5 separate regions of the Homo sapiens genome follow, and regions 2, 3, 4 and 5 are each linked to region 1. The links are contacts of gene promoters, found by promoter capture Hi-C in blood cells and fetal thymus (Javierre and others, 2016). All regions are on one chromosome and are shown on one strand. Each heading gives the region's core, a stretch centred on a gene start or on the middle of the fragment in contact. The rest is flanking DNA. Distances are from core to core; before and after follow the strand shown.

Region 1 (2,733 bases), core at 63-2,562:
CTTCAGTTTCTAGCAGACAACTGAGAAAGATATTTCCCACTACTAAACGGTGTTCATTGACCTCTGTGAAAAGGACTTCTGGTAAACTCCTCTTGGAATTTAGCACCAGGAAAAAGCTTGCCAGGGCTCATGAACCAGCTCTATCCATACATAACCCATGGCATCTCATGTTTGCCTCCAGTGCCAGCAAGCCCTGAGCTATAGTTGAAGCTCAAATACCATGGTCTTAAATGTTCTCCAACAGTTTAACTGTACATACTTTTTACTGTAAGCTACCTCAAATCTTTCTCAGAAATAGGTGCGAGATATGTGGATAAATAAGTTAGAAGTAAATGTTGATGAGAGGCAAGTGCATAGGCTTGGGGTTTAAAAAGAAACAGCAGAAGCAGGTAGCTGTGTGCCCCTGGATAAGCCCCTTGGTCTCTGAATCTATACTTATCAGTAAAATGGGGATCCTGATGCCTGACACCTGACACCTGATGCCTGAGTTGAAATGGAAATTGGCTAACACGATGCTATTAAATCCTGGGTCTTCTTATTAAAGGCCTCAATTCCTTCCTCTCTTCTGTCATGCTGGGAGCCCCCCCAGGATTCCCGGGTAGAGGGCGCGGGTCCGGCCTTGAAGCCGGGTTCTCAGGGCCTCACTGCGGGGTCTCTGCAGCCTCGGTCGCTGGCACAAATGCTGGACTGCAGCAGCCCCTGGGGTCCCCTAGGGGACCTGGGCGCCCCTACCTTATCTCCGAGTCCTCCTTAGGGTACTTGTCCACCAGGCTGATGACGTCCAGCACCACTAGCCCCACGCACAGGATCTGCTTCTCTTCCATGAGGCTACTCCCAGAGCTTCCTGCCCGCCCGGCTGACGGGGTTCCTCCCGGCCTCTGCCTCTTATCCAGGAGGATGGTGTCCCCGCTCCCAGCTGCCCTGGCTCCTCCTCCGCGTGGGAGCTCCTCCTCCAGGGAGCCACCTGCAGCGGCCAGGGGTGCAGGGAACGAAAGGAGCAGGGCCCTTCCTCGCGACACCCGAAGACCCGAGCGGGTCTAGGAAAGCCAACCCAGAGGTCTTGGTCCCCGGTCTTCCCGTAGCAGGTTGCCTGGGCCTGCAGATGGCAACGCCTCCCACTTCTCAGCCTTAGTTTCCTCGCTTGTCAGATGGACTCACAGCTGATGCAAACCTTTTTAAAGCGCGGCTAAGCGATCTCGAGAATGCAAAGAGAAAATGCGCTACTTGCCCCGCACTCTCCTGCACCTGCGTCTCCGACTCCCGACCCGGGACACGCGAGGTACAGCTGGGCCTCGCATCTGCAGCCCTGCCTGAAGCCCGCGGTCGCGGCGGCCCCGCCCCGCCCCGCCCCGCCCCGCCCCGGTTAGTCCCAGCCGAGGCCACGCCTCCGCCGCGGAGGAGCAGGACCCGCCGGGTGGGCCGCAGCCTCACGTGGCGGGAACGCAGAGCGCCCCCTGGCGGACGCCGGCGAAACGGGCGTGACACGGGGGAGACGTCGCAGGAGCCGGGCGGGCGCCGCTTGCTGCCTGAGCCAACCCCGAGCCGCCCCGAGCCGGGCGGAGGCGGCGAACGCAGTGCGGAACCCGGGGTCCTCTCCGGAGGCCGTCGTCTCTCCCGCCCCGTGCCCTGTGCACGCCCGGCAGCCCCCGACCCCGTACCGTAGCAGAACGGTTCGTTTAGTTTTTTTTAGAAAAACCAAGTGTCTTTATTCCTCGATCGTTTAGTATGGCGGTGGGCGGCGCCCGCGCGGGGGAGCCTGGAGCCCAGGGAATCGACCTGGAGGGCCAGTGGAGGGAGCGGAGGGTGCGAGGATCGGCTCCTCCGCAGGCCGGCCCTGGAGGGGTTCTTGGGGGATCGCGCCAGGCCAAAAGTCTGCATGGGCGGCCCCGAGCCTCCCTGAGCCGGCGCGCCCCGGGCGTGGGGAGAGGCCGCTCTGGGCGCGGTGCCGCTGCGGGCCCGGGTGCGGCGCTCGCCCAGGGCTAGGTGCCCCGTCTCAGGCGAGACCCCAGGAGCCCGCCGCCCCCGCTGTCTCTTCAGCCGACGTAGACACGTCGGGCGGGACCCCAGTCTACGCGTGTTCAAGCTCTGGGTCCCCATAGAGCAGGGCCCCGCTGAAGATGGTGAGCGGCTCCTCCGAGTGCGCCAGCTGCCCCATGACCAGGTCGACGCAGACCGTGTCCCCGGCCTGCAGCGGCAGGATGAGGCTGAAGACGCCCAGGGTGCCCGGGCTGGGCTGGCTCTCGGCCACCGGCTTATTCTCCAGGCCCTCAGGCTCGTAGCCACCGGAGTCTACGCGGGCCACGCCCTGGTTGGAGCGGGACAGCACGGCCTCCACTTTCTCGTGCCGGTGCCCAGTCAGCACCGCGCTCAGCAAGTAGCGTCCAGCCAGTGGCGCTGTGAACACGCCTGGGGACAAGGATAGCAGTCAGGGGGGCCAGGGAAGCTCCGGGGAGCGCACCAGAACTCCTGGACTGAGGAGGGACCCTCTGGGTCTTTTCACCTCACTGGAATGTGAGCGGCAGGGAACTGGGGGCTTTGTTCACTATGCATTCCCAGCACTTAAAACAGTGCCTGGGCAGGAGCAGGCCCCAGTAAAGATCTGCTGAATGAATGAATGACTACTTCTTCTCCCCACTGCCTGAGAATGAATAAATGAAGAAAGAGCCGGGGTCTCCCCAAATCAGAGAATGAAGATTCACACTGTCGGAAAAGGCAAGAATGGGAAGATATCAC
Region 2 (2,733 bases), core at 99-2,598, 500 kb before region 1:
GATTTCAAGAGTCTAAATAAACATCAGTAGAACAGAATAAGGAGAGTCCAGAAACAGACCTACACATATACATGTCCAAGTGAAGTTTGACAAAGATGCCAAGGCAATTCAGTAGGGAAAGAAAACTCTTTCCAACAACTGGGTATATAAATAGAAAAAAAAGTCAACATTGACCCTTACCATAAAACATTCACAGAAATTAACTCTAAATGAGTCACAGACCTAAATATAAAACCTATAAAACTTCTAGGAGAAAAGACCACAGAAAATCTCTGCAATTAGGGAGGCAAAAGTTTCTTTTTTTTAATTATTATTATTTCTTAAGACGGAATCTCGCTCTGTCGCCCAGGCTGGAGTGCAGTGGCACCACCTTGACTCGCTACGACCTCCAGGGAGGCAAAGGTTTCTTAAATAGGATACATAAAAGCATGAAATGTAAGAAAAAAATGATAAATTTAAACCTTTTGCTCTTCAAAAGACATCATTAAGAAAATGAAAGACAAACCAGACTGGAAGGAAGTATAACAGACAAACGAGTTGTATTCAGGACAGATTTTTTTAAATACCACAATTCAATAAGATAACCCACTTTTTTTAATGGACAAAAATGTAAACATTTTACAAAAGTAGACACACAAATGGCCAATAAGAATAGGAACAGATGAAGGCTGGGCGCGGTGGCTCACACCGTTAATCCCAGCACTTTGGGAGGCAAAGGTGGGCAGATCACCTGAGGTTGGGAGTTCGAGACCAGCCTGACCAACATGGAGAAACCCCGTCTCTACTAAAAATATAAAATTAGCCAGGCGTGGCGGCACATGCCTGTAATCCCAGCTACTCCGGAGGGTGAGCAGAAGAATAGCTTGAATCTGGGAGGCGGAGGTTGCAGTGAGCCGAGATTGCACCATTGCACTCCAGCCTGGGCAACAAGAGTGAAACTCTGTCTCAAAAAAAATAAAATAAAAAAGAATATGAACAGATGCAAAAAAAAAAAGATCAAAAAAAGAAAGAATACGAACAGATGCTCAACATTATTATTCATATATGATGAATTAAAAACCACAAATTAGGCCAGGTGTGGTGGCTCAAGCATGTAATCCCAGCACTTTGGGAGGCCAAGGTGGGCAGAACACTTAAGGTCAGGAGTTCGAGACCAGCCTGGCCAACATGGTGAAATCCCATCTCTACTAAAAATACCAAAATTAGTCAGGCGTGGTGATGCACACCGGTAATCCCAGCTACTCAGGAGGCTAAGGCAGAAGAATCAGTTAAACCTGGGAGGCAAAGGGTTCGGTGAGCCAGGATCAGGCCACTGCACTCCAGCCTGGGTGACAGAGGGAGACACTGTCTCAAAAAAAGAAAAAAAAAAAAAAAAAACCCATGAATTAAAACCACAGTGAGATACCACTACACACCCATTAAATTAGCTAAAATTGAAAAGACTGACTCATACATTGCTGGTAGGAATGCAAAATAATACCACTTTGGAAAGCAGGTAGTTTCCTAAAAAGCTAAACATACTCCTGCCATATGAATCAACCAACCTAGGATGGTAAATACCATCTTAGATATTTATCAAAAGAAATGAAAGCATTTGTCCACACAAGACTTGTACATGAACGTTCACAGCAGCCTTATTGTTTGACACCCTAAAACTGAAAATAACTCAAATGTCAATCAAGATAGATGGCTAAACAAATTATGGTATCCATAATGGAATTCTACCCAGCAATAAAAACTATTTGTCATCTCAAAATCATTATTCTGAGTGAAAGAAATCATGAAAAAAATGAGAACATACTGTGTGACTTCATTTATATAAAATCCTAGAATATGCAAACCACTGTACAGTGGTGCCCGTGGACAGGAGTGGAGGAAGAAATGGCAGAGACATGAACAAACTTTTGAGAGAGATGAAAATGTTTATTATCTTGATTGTGGCAATGGTTTCACGGGTACAGACATACGTCAAAGCTGACCATAGTGTACGCTTTAAATATGTGCAGTCTATTGTACTCTAATTATACCTCAATAAAGGTATTTTTAAAAATTAATGGACTGGCAGGCCTCTAAGGCCAAAACCTACCATCCCAAACAATGCTAGAAACACTTGATGGGACAGGCGCAGTGGCTCATGCCTGTAATCCTAGCACTTTGGAAGGCCAAGATGGGCGAACTGCCTGAGCTCAGGAGTTCAAGACCAGCCTGGGCAACACTGTGAAACCCCTTCTCTACTAAAATACAAAAACTTAGCAGGGCACAGCGGTGTGCACCTGTAATCCCAGCTACTCGGGAGGCTGAGGCAGGAGAATTGCTTGAACCCAGGAGGTGGAGGTTGTGGTGAGCCGAGATCATGCCACTGCACTCCAGCCTAGGCGACAGAGCAAGACTCCATCTCCAACAACAACAACAACAACAACAACAACAACAAAGACTTGATGGTACCAACAGGCCATTAAGAGCTGAGTCCCATGTAATAACTCTTAGGAAACTCTCCATGTAGGAATTTCTTACTATCAGTGTAGGACTCAGAAATACAGTACCCATATACCCTCTTATGAATAAGCATAAGCATACTGAAAAGGCAACAGTTCATATGATCATAATTAACTCTTGGAGATTAAATCAAGGTGGTTAGGGAATCCCTCCTCCAGGTCTCATGTTTTATTTTTAAAGCACTCAACAAAAACAATTCTCAAGTATTTTACAATATCTACCCATCAACCCCAGGAC
Region 3 (2,733 bases), core at 112-2,611, 400 kb before region 1:
TAAAAATTTCTCCGCCCTAATGGAAAAATTGGAAATGAAATCCTCCTTCAGTCTCTCAAAATAAGATGATGTCATGATGCAGGTAGGGCTGAATGCCCAGAATTGGGCAAAGCGATAAAGCAGGAGGATCAGCAAAGATTGATGAGGAGCCCTCAGGCCTTCTAACCTAATATAATGAAGAGTTAGAGGATCATAGTGATGGTGGTGTGGCTATTTTCTGGTTTGAGGATTTGCAGGAAAATAGACTTTTTACTTCTGACTTTGGAGATAGGTGAGTTTGGAGTGTAAAGTGTCAATGTTTGAAGCCAGAACTCTAGTGTCCAAATAATTAAACAATTGGGGCAGAAGAAAAGCAGAATAAAATGTTTTGTTTTCAAGGAAGGAAACCCTTAGTAGCAGAGCTAGTCCCTTAGGACCAGAGCTAGTGTTGGAAGGGTCAGATCTGGTCAGAATAATTCACCTGGAGATAACTTCTAACTTGGGTTTCTCTGAAGTGGGTAGTTAAGAAGAAAAGAAAGTGGGATTATTCGTCCTGAGTCTCAACTCGTACTCGCCCATCCTGAACTCTCACTGTCTCTCCCTTTCCTTTCAAATAAGCCCAAACTCCTTTGCCTGGCTTCAAAGACTTCCTGAGCTGGCCTGTTTTTCCTGCCTTACCCCGTCTATTCTACTATTTATAAGGTATAATAGTTTCAAATAAACTAAATTACTGTTTCTTGTCCAGAATTTGCCTTTGCTCATTGCCATTCCTCCCATCTCAGATAACTTCCTACTCAACTGCATTCATTCTTCAAAGCTTAATTTTGATAATTTAAGCATAAAATTCTCTCAGGCTTCTCCAAACTATTGTAGTACTTTATACATACTTTAATAGGACTTTTCTATTTTGCACCATCTTATTAGACGTGGAGGCAGGATCTATGGTTTGCTTTTTGTCTCTCTCTCAGCCCCTGGCCAAGTGCCTTGATCAATAAGGTGCTAAAAAAATATTAATTGAATGAATGGCTAATGACCAAAACTTACCAGACTAATTGAATTTATTTCAGTAGCAGACCTGGAAACGAGGAGGCCGTTGCAGGGATTCATTGATACAGTTGACTTAGCACCCTGCCTCTTAGTGCATTTGCATATGAGTCTCTAGAAGCCTGTTGTTCTCACAGTCCAGGATCTGAAGGCCTTGGAGACCAGCATGGGCCACAGGCATCTCTTTGTTTTGAGGATAGAACCGTGACAGGAAGAAAATTGACCAGTATTACACTAGAATTAATGAAGCTAGAAATGCTTTTGGCATTCTAGACCAGCACATGGGTTTGTTTTTACCCCTTTGCCTCTACAGGATGGAGCTGCAAAGGTGACCTGCATGGCTTGGTCCCAGAACAATGCCAAATTTGCTGTCTGCACAGTGGACCGAGTGGTCTTGCTGTATGATGAACATGGAGAACGGAGAGATAAATTCTCCACCAAACCAGCTGACATGAAGGTAAACAGTGTATTCATGTGTACCTTATTTAACCTATTGATGGGGTCTCACAACTTGAAAGACGTAGTCTGCCTTCTAGCCATCAGCATAGGAAATGGCATACCCCACCTTTTTCTCAGTATAAATCCTCAAGCTCCCTTAGGAGCACACATATGCCTTTTTTTCTCTTTTCTCTTTCATGTGTACTCATTACTTCTTTTTCTTTCTTTTTTTTTTTTTAAACTCTTAGTATGGCAGGAAGAGCTATATGGTGAAGGGCATGGCTTTTTCTCCTGATTCCACTAAAATTGCCATAGGACAGACTGACAACATCATCTATGTCTACAAGATTGGAGAAGATTGGTGAGGATAGAGACTGGGAGATGGGATGGCCCAGGAAAGAAGGGGAAGGCAAGAGAAATGCCTCACTGGGGAGGGGAAATACAGGGGATGAGAAGCCAAGCTTGGCCATTGAAGGCAGAGACTTTCTGGAGTCTGTTTTTGCTTTTCTGCCTTCACCTGTCCCACGTGTTCTTCAATCCCATCCCTGGAGGAAACAGTCCAAGGTCAACAGGAGGCCCTGTGAGATCCTGGAAGCCCAGAGTGATGTCACATCTTTGTTATTGTTCTGAAGCTGCTTAGGCTCCCTCATATACCTCCTTTCAGGGCTCCTACAGAGTAGTCAGAAATACTACTGGGCCAGGGAAGAAATCTGCTCTTTCTTCTCTTCCCTCAGCATCATTTTTGGCAATTTGTTTATGGAAGTGGTATTTATTTATTTATTTATTTTGAGATAGAGTCTCACTCTGTCACCCAGGCTGGAGTGCAGTGGCGCGATTGTGGCTCACTGCAAGCTCCTCCTCCCAGGTTCACGCAATTCTCCTGCCTCAGCCTCCCGAGTAGCTGGGACTACAGGCGCCCACCACCACACCCGGCTAATTTTTTGTATTTTTAGTAGAGACGGGGTTTCACTGTGTTAGCCAGGATGGTCTCGATCTCCTGACCTCATGATCCTCCCGCCTCGGCCTCCCAAAGTGCTGGGATTACAGGCATGAGCCACCACGCCCGGCCTGGAAGTGGTTTTTAATATGTTTCCCCTTCTTTTGTTTGGCAGGGGTGACAAGAAAGTCATCTGCAACAAGTTCATCCAGACGGTAAAGTTCAGACCAGTCCCTGGAACCTTAGGATGAACAAACATATATCAGTATATCTACTTATAAATACAGCCAGGAGTTGCATTTCTAACATCTGAATGTGACTTTTCCTACTGCAAG
Region 4 (2,733 bases), core at 138-2,637, 320 kb before region 1:
GTCTGTAATCCCAGCATTTTGGGAGGCCGAGGCAGGCAGATCACCTGAGCTCAGGAGTTCGAGACCAGCCTGGGCAACATGGCAAAAACCCTGTCTCTACAAAAAATACAAAAAAATTAGCTGGGCATGGTGGCACCCACCTGTAGTCCCAGTTACTTGGGAGGCTGAGATAGAAAATCACTTTGAGCCTGAGAGGCAGAGCCTTCATTGAGCCAAGATCGCCCCTCTGCACTCCAATCTGGGTGACAGAGCGAGACGCTGTCTCAAAAAATAAATGAATAGGCCAGGCATGGTGGCTCATGCCTGTAATCCTAACACTTTGGGAGGCTGCGGCGGGCGGATTGCCTGAGCTTAGGAGTTCGAGACCAGCCTGGACAACATGAAGAAACCCCGTCTTTATTAAAATACAAAAAATTAGCTGAATGTGGTGGTGCGTGCCTATAATCATAGCTACTTGGAAGGCTGAGGCAGGAGAATCGCTTGAATCCCAGAGGCGGAGGTTGCAGTGAGCCAAGATCGTGCCACTGTACTCCAGCCTGGGCGACAGAGTGAGACACTGTCTCAAAAAAAAAAAAAAAAAGAATAAATAAATAAATCTGGGTATAGTTTCGTAGGAAAGTCTTTTTGTAAAGTAGGTAGTCAAGAAGTTCCATTTCCATGGCATTTTCTGTTAACGTTGTGAGATTTGAGGTGAATATTCCATCTCGCAGTAAAACGTTTCTTCCAGGTTTCTCATTTAATATTTTTCACTTCTCTGCTGTTGTTTTTTCATTTCTTTGGTACCCTTCTTTCTACTTTTACTTACGGATTGAGTTGCTTGGCTACTCAGTGTTTCACGTTGGTTTGCCCAGTGATTCCATACTATTTGCTGCTTCTCTGTAGGGCATTTCCCTTTATTTTTGGTTTCTCCTCAATTAGAAAATGATTTTTTTTGTCAGGGACGGTTTAGTGTGTAGAGATCTTACTAGACTATTCCTTACATCCTAATCTTCCTCCTGAGAGATAACTGCTTAGGGTATTAAAATCTTGCTAATGTGCTGTTTCTGAAGTTGCCCTTGTTTGAATAAATATGCCTAATCAATAGTTAAATATGCCTAATCAAATCCTCTTGAAGAGTATTGTTTGGGATCCTATTCTGCTTCATTGATAGTGTTCCTTCTGGCTTTTTTTCTCTTCAAAGTGTAGCATAGTTTCTTTGCTATTGCAAGAAAATAACTATGAGTTCTAGCCTCTTCCCTGAATCTTATCTTTCCAGAAAATATAAAGTACTCCCATTCCTCTGAAGCTTTAGGGCTTAATCCAAAAATTAATAAAGTTTATTTACCCTATTTGCTTGGTCCTAATGCTTCATTTGAGGTAAGGTTATCATACCACTAAAGGTTGTTGACATGCTGACTGATGGATAGATTTAGCCGTAGAGAGGACTCTTGAGACAAAAATGGCAATCATCAATAGCTGGCATTTTTACTTTCTGCCTGTTTCAAGCTTCTCTTCCTGTGTGACCAGGGTGTTGTTGTTGTTTGTTTTGTTTTGTTTTGTTTTTGAGACGGAGTTTCTATCTTGTTGCCCAGGCTGGAGTACAATGGCATGATCTCGGCTCACTGCAACCTCCGCCTCCCGGGTTCAAGCGATTCTCCTGCCTCAGCCTCCTGAGTAGCTGGGATTACAGGCATGTGCCACCACGCCTGGCTAATTTTGTATTTTTAGTAGAGATGGGGGTCTCTCCATGTTGGTCAGGCTGGTCTCGAACTTCTGACCTCAGGTGATCGGCCCGCCTCTGCCTCCCAAAATGCTGTGAGCCACCATGCCCAGCAACCAGGGTGTTTTGAGAAAAGGTAATCAAAATACCACAGGCCAGTCGTGGTGGCTTAACGCCTGTAATCCCAGCAGTTTGGGAGGCCGAGGGGGGCAGATCACCTGAGGTCAGTTCGAGACCAGCCTAGTCAACATGGTGAAACCCCGTCTCTACTGAAAATACAAAAATTAGCCAGAGGCCAGAGAATTGCTTGAATAGGAAGGCCAGTGAGCCGAGATCTCACCGCTGCACTCTAGCCAGGGTGACAGACTCCGTCTCAAAAAAACAAACAAAAAAACCACCACAGTTGATGTTCTCCTCCTTCCTCCTTTCTCCATGAAAAAAGTGGATGAGGTATGTACTTTGGGATTAAGAGGTAGGCACTGGGCACGGTGGCTCATGCCTGTAATCCCAGCACTTTGGGAGGCCGAGGTGGGCGGATCACGAGATCAAGAGACCGAGATCATTCTGGCCAATATGGTGAAACCCTGTCTCTTCTAAAATACAAGAATTAGCTGGGCATGGTGGCGCACGCCTGTAGTCCCAGCTACTCCGGAGGCTGAGGCAGGAGAATCGCTTGAACCTGGGAGGCGGAGGTTGCAGTGAGCCGAGATCGCACCACTGCACTCCAGCCTGGGCGACAGGGTGAGACTCCATCTTAAAAAAAAAAAAAAAAAAATGAGGTAGGTTGTGGAGGGGTGCCTGAAAAATTATAAGGTAAGGCCCTTGAGTTTTTGTTGGCTAAATAAGAAGTCAAATCTGAAAATAGATTCAGTTGATGTAGTCTTTTTTTTTTTTTTTTTTCTCCGAGACGGAGTCTTGCACTGTTGCCCAGGCTGGAGTATAATGGCATGATCTTGGCTCACTGCAACCTCTGCCTCCTGAGTTCAAGCGATTCTCCTGCCTCAGCTTCCCGAGTAGCTGGGATTACAGGCGCC
Region 5 (2,733 bases), core at 88-2,587, 260 kb before region 1:
GTGGAACAAGAAGATGAATATCAGCGAGAATCTGATTGAAATGAAGGAATCTAAACTAGATAGGATGTGGCTGACATACAGAGAAATTGGAGAGATCAAGGGATAGTGGCTTGATACAGCTGGAGAATAAAAGTGATAGTGGGTAAGCAGTCTAGCTGTAATGATGGGAGATCAGATAGTTAGATGTCTTAGTGATTTTGGAGGTTAAGAGGTTTGGGTGATGACAAGGTTCAGAGAATGACAGCAAAGTGAGTAGCTGCGGTTTAGCTGAATGTTCTAAGCATCAAAGGAACAAGATTTTTACAAGATGGGGGGCGTGTGGGACTGTTGGTCTGCAAGTGGCATTGCAGAGGAATTGAAGGGACTGATCCCACTTTGAACCCTGAGGTAGGTGGGATGTGAGTGAATGAGCAACTTCCACTTGAGAGCCTGGAAAGTGAGAAATTTCATTGTCTGGAATTTTTTGCATCCAAGATTCTGAATATGATTTAGGTTTTACAAATCAAATATGCTCCTGGAGAACTTAAATTTGAATCTGATTTTAGAGAGGAGAAAGGCAGACTAGGAGGCATGTATTTGCTGGTGCAGATTTTGGCAGTGATGAGGTTCTGGATCAGGAGCTAGAGAAGCGGCTCTCCTATTTAGTTAGGTCACTTTCTGATTACTGCAGACACAACTTGTTTATGGAGCCATTGGCTGTGGTAGGGGCTTGTTGATTCAGCAGGTGGTTTCCCATCATAGCATATGTTTTGTTATTATTTTATTTTATATTTTTGAGATGGAGTCTCACTCTGTCACCCAGGCTGGAGTGCAGTGGCGCGATCTCAGCTCACTGCAGCCTCCACCTTCCAGGTTCCAGCGATTCTCCTGCCTCAGCCTCCTGAGTAGCTGGGACTACAAGTGCACGTGGCACCACGCCCAGCTAATTTTTGTGTTTTTAGTAGAGACGAGGTTTCACCATGTTAGCCAAGCTGGTCTCAAACTCCTGACCTTAGGTGATCCGCCCTCTTCAGCCTCCCAGAGTGCTAGGATTACAGGCGTGAGCCACCATGCCCGGCCTGCTATTTTTTATTTTTAGATACAGGGTCTTGCTCTGTGAGGATGGAATGCAGTGCCACAATCATAGCTCACTGCAGTCTTCAACTCCTGGGCATAAGTGATCCTCCCACCTCAGTCTCCCAAGTAGCTAAGACTGCAGTTGCATGCCACTACACTCAGCTAATTTTTTTTTTTTTTTTTTGAGATGGAGTCTTGCTGTGTCGCCCAGACTAGAGTGCAGTGGTGCAGTCTCGGCTCACTGCAAACTCTGCCTCCTGTATTCAAGCGATTCTCCTGCCTCAGCCTCCCGAGTAGCTGGGATTACAGGCATATTCCACCACGCCTGGCTAATTTTTGTATTTTTTAGTAGAGACGGGGTTTCATCGCTTTTGGCCAGGCTGGTCGGGAACTCCTGACCTTAGGTGATCCACCTGCCTCAGCCTCCCAGAGTGCTGGGATTACAGGCATGAGCCACCGCACCCAGCCTCAGCTAATTTTCAAAAAAAATTTTTTTGCAGAGACAAAGTCTTGCTGTGTTGCCCAGGCTGATCTTGAACTCCTGGCCTCAAGCGATCCTCCCACCTTGGCCTCCCAAAGTGTTGAGATTACAGGCATGAGCCACTGCGCCCAGCCCAGCACATGATTCTTGAGCCAGCAGCTGTAAATAAGAGCACCTTCCCAGTTTGATAAGCACTTGTTCCTACCAACTGTTTTTCCCTCAACCCTCATCGTGATCATTTATTTATGCAAGTGTTTTTCAGCTTGAGTGTGCGTCAGAATCCCCTGAAGAGCTTGTTAAAACACAAGGTGCTGGCCCCATCCAGAATTGCTGATTCGGTAGGTCTGGGGTAGAACTAGGAATTTGCATTTTAACAAATTTGCAGGTGATACTGATGCTGCAGTTTCTGGGGCCACACTTTGTGAACCTCTGATATGAACTGTTTAATACCGTGTAGTGAATTCCTTTCTGCTTGAACTGATTGGAGAGGATTCTGTTCTATGCAACTGAGCCAATATGGGGGGAATATTTATTTTATTTATATCTTCATTGTTCTTATCTACTTTGTCATTGATTAAAAGAAGTTATTGTTCTGTGTCATGAACATTTTGCTTTGTATCTTTTGATGCTGTTATTTGATGTTTAAATGTTCCTGACATTTATATCTTTTATATGATTTGAAGTTTTATTCATTATAAACTACTCCCTTTTGGGCTGGGCACAGTGGCTCATGCTTGTAATCCCAGCACTTTGGGAAACTGAGGCAGGGGGATCATTTGAGGTCAGGAGTTCAAGGCCAGCCTGGCCAACACAGCCAGACCCCGTCTCTACTAAAAAATACAAAAGTTAGCCAGGCATGGTGGCACATGCCTGTAATCCCAGCTACTCGGGAGGCTGAGGCAGGAGAGTTGCTTGAACCCAGGAGGCAGAGGTTGCAGTGAGCCGAGATCACGCCACTGCATTCCAGCCTGGGCAACAGAGAGAGGCTCCGTCTCAAAAAAAAAAAATAGTACTCCCTTTATTCCTATTTAATGTTTTCCCCCTAAATTCGACTTTACTATTGTCATCAAAACTCCTCCTTTGTTTTTGCTTAGATTTTGCCCTGTACATTTTAGTTGATCTTTGTATTTTCAGCTTTTTGAGTTATTTTGTTTTAGGCATCTCTTGAAAAGCATATAGTTATTTGTCTTTTAAAA

What was found. The method cuts DNA at HindIII sites, captures the fragments that hold promoters and counts their contacts. A CHiCAGO score of 5 or more calls a contact.
Region 2: a contact is called between a fragment that was not itself captured here and the fragment with the promoter of KHK in region 1, in 1 of 17 cell types (naive B cells). The highest score is 6.1, in naive B cells.
Region 3: a contact is called between a fragment that was not itself captured here and the fragment with the promoter of KHK in region 1, in 2 of 17 cell types (neutrophils and naive B cells). The highest score is 6.1, in neutrophils.
Region 4: a contact is called between a fragment that was not itself captured here and the fragment with the promoter of KHK in region 1, in 1 of 17 cell types (total B cells). The highest score is 6.6, in total B cells.
Region 5: a contact is called between a fragment that was not itself captured here and the fragment with the promoter of KHK in region 1, in 1 of 17 cell types (total B cells). The highest score is 6.0, in total B cells.

The regions. Positions count from the first base shown.
Region 1 is chr2:27,085,351-27,088,083 of GRCh38, reverse strand. KHK (ketohexokinase) reads right to left here and starts at 1,312. Exons shown (of 8, transcript NM_006488.3): 1 at 733-1,312. The coding sequence starts at 824. It overlaps EMILIN1 (elastin microfibril interfacer 1), which reads right to left. Exons shown (of 8, transcript NM_007046.4): 8 at 1,681-2,406. The coding sequence ends at 2,069. RefSeq lists enhancers at 1,059-1,118, 2,109-2,328 and silencers at 1,309-1,768, 1,819-1,978. The HindIII fragment of the contact is 6,666 bases long and covers 119-2,733 here.
Region 2 is chr2:27,585,913-27,588,645 of GRCh38, reverse strand. The region is part of intron 2 of ZNF512 (zinc finger protein 512); the gene reads right to left. Among named protein-coding and RNA genes, the nearest start is that of ZNF512, 4.2 kb to the right of the region's middle. The HindIII fragment of the contact is 2,913 bases long and covers 1-2,733 here.
Region 3 is chr2:27,484,107-27,486,839 of GRCh38, reverse strand. It overlaps IFT172 (intraflagellar transport 172), which reads left to right. Exons shown (of 48, transcript NM_015662.3): 2 at 1,337-1,480; 3 at 1,710-1,822; 4 at 2,574-2,613. Among named protein-coding and RNA genes, the nearest start is that of IFT172, 4.3 kb to the left of the region's middle. The HindIII fragment of the contact is 1,126 bases long and covers 799-1,924 here.
Region 4 is chr2:27,404,814-27,407,546 of GRCh38, reverse strand. All of the region lies in intron 1 of PPM1G (protein phosphatase, Mg2+/Mn2+ dependent 1G), which reads left to right. Among named protein-coding and RNA genes, the nearest start is that of PPM1G, 3.4 kb to the left of the region's middle. The HindIII fragment of the contact is 200 bases long and covers 1,288-1,487 here.
Region 5 is chr2:27,349,456-27,352,188 of GRCh38, reverse strand. The region is part of intron 1 of GTF3C2 (general transcription factor IIIC subunit 2); the gene reads left to right. Among named protein-coding and RNA genes, the nearest start is that of GTF3C2, 5.9 kb to the left of the region's middle. The HindIII fragment of the contact is 7,047 bases long and covers 1-2,733 here.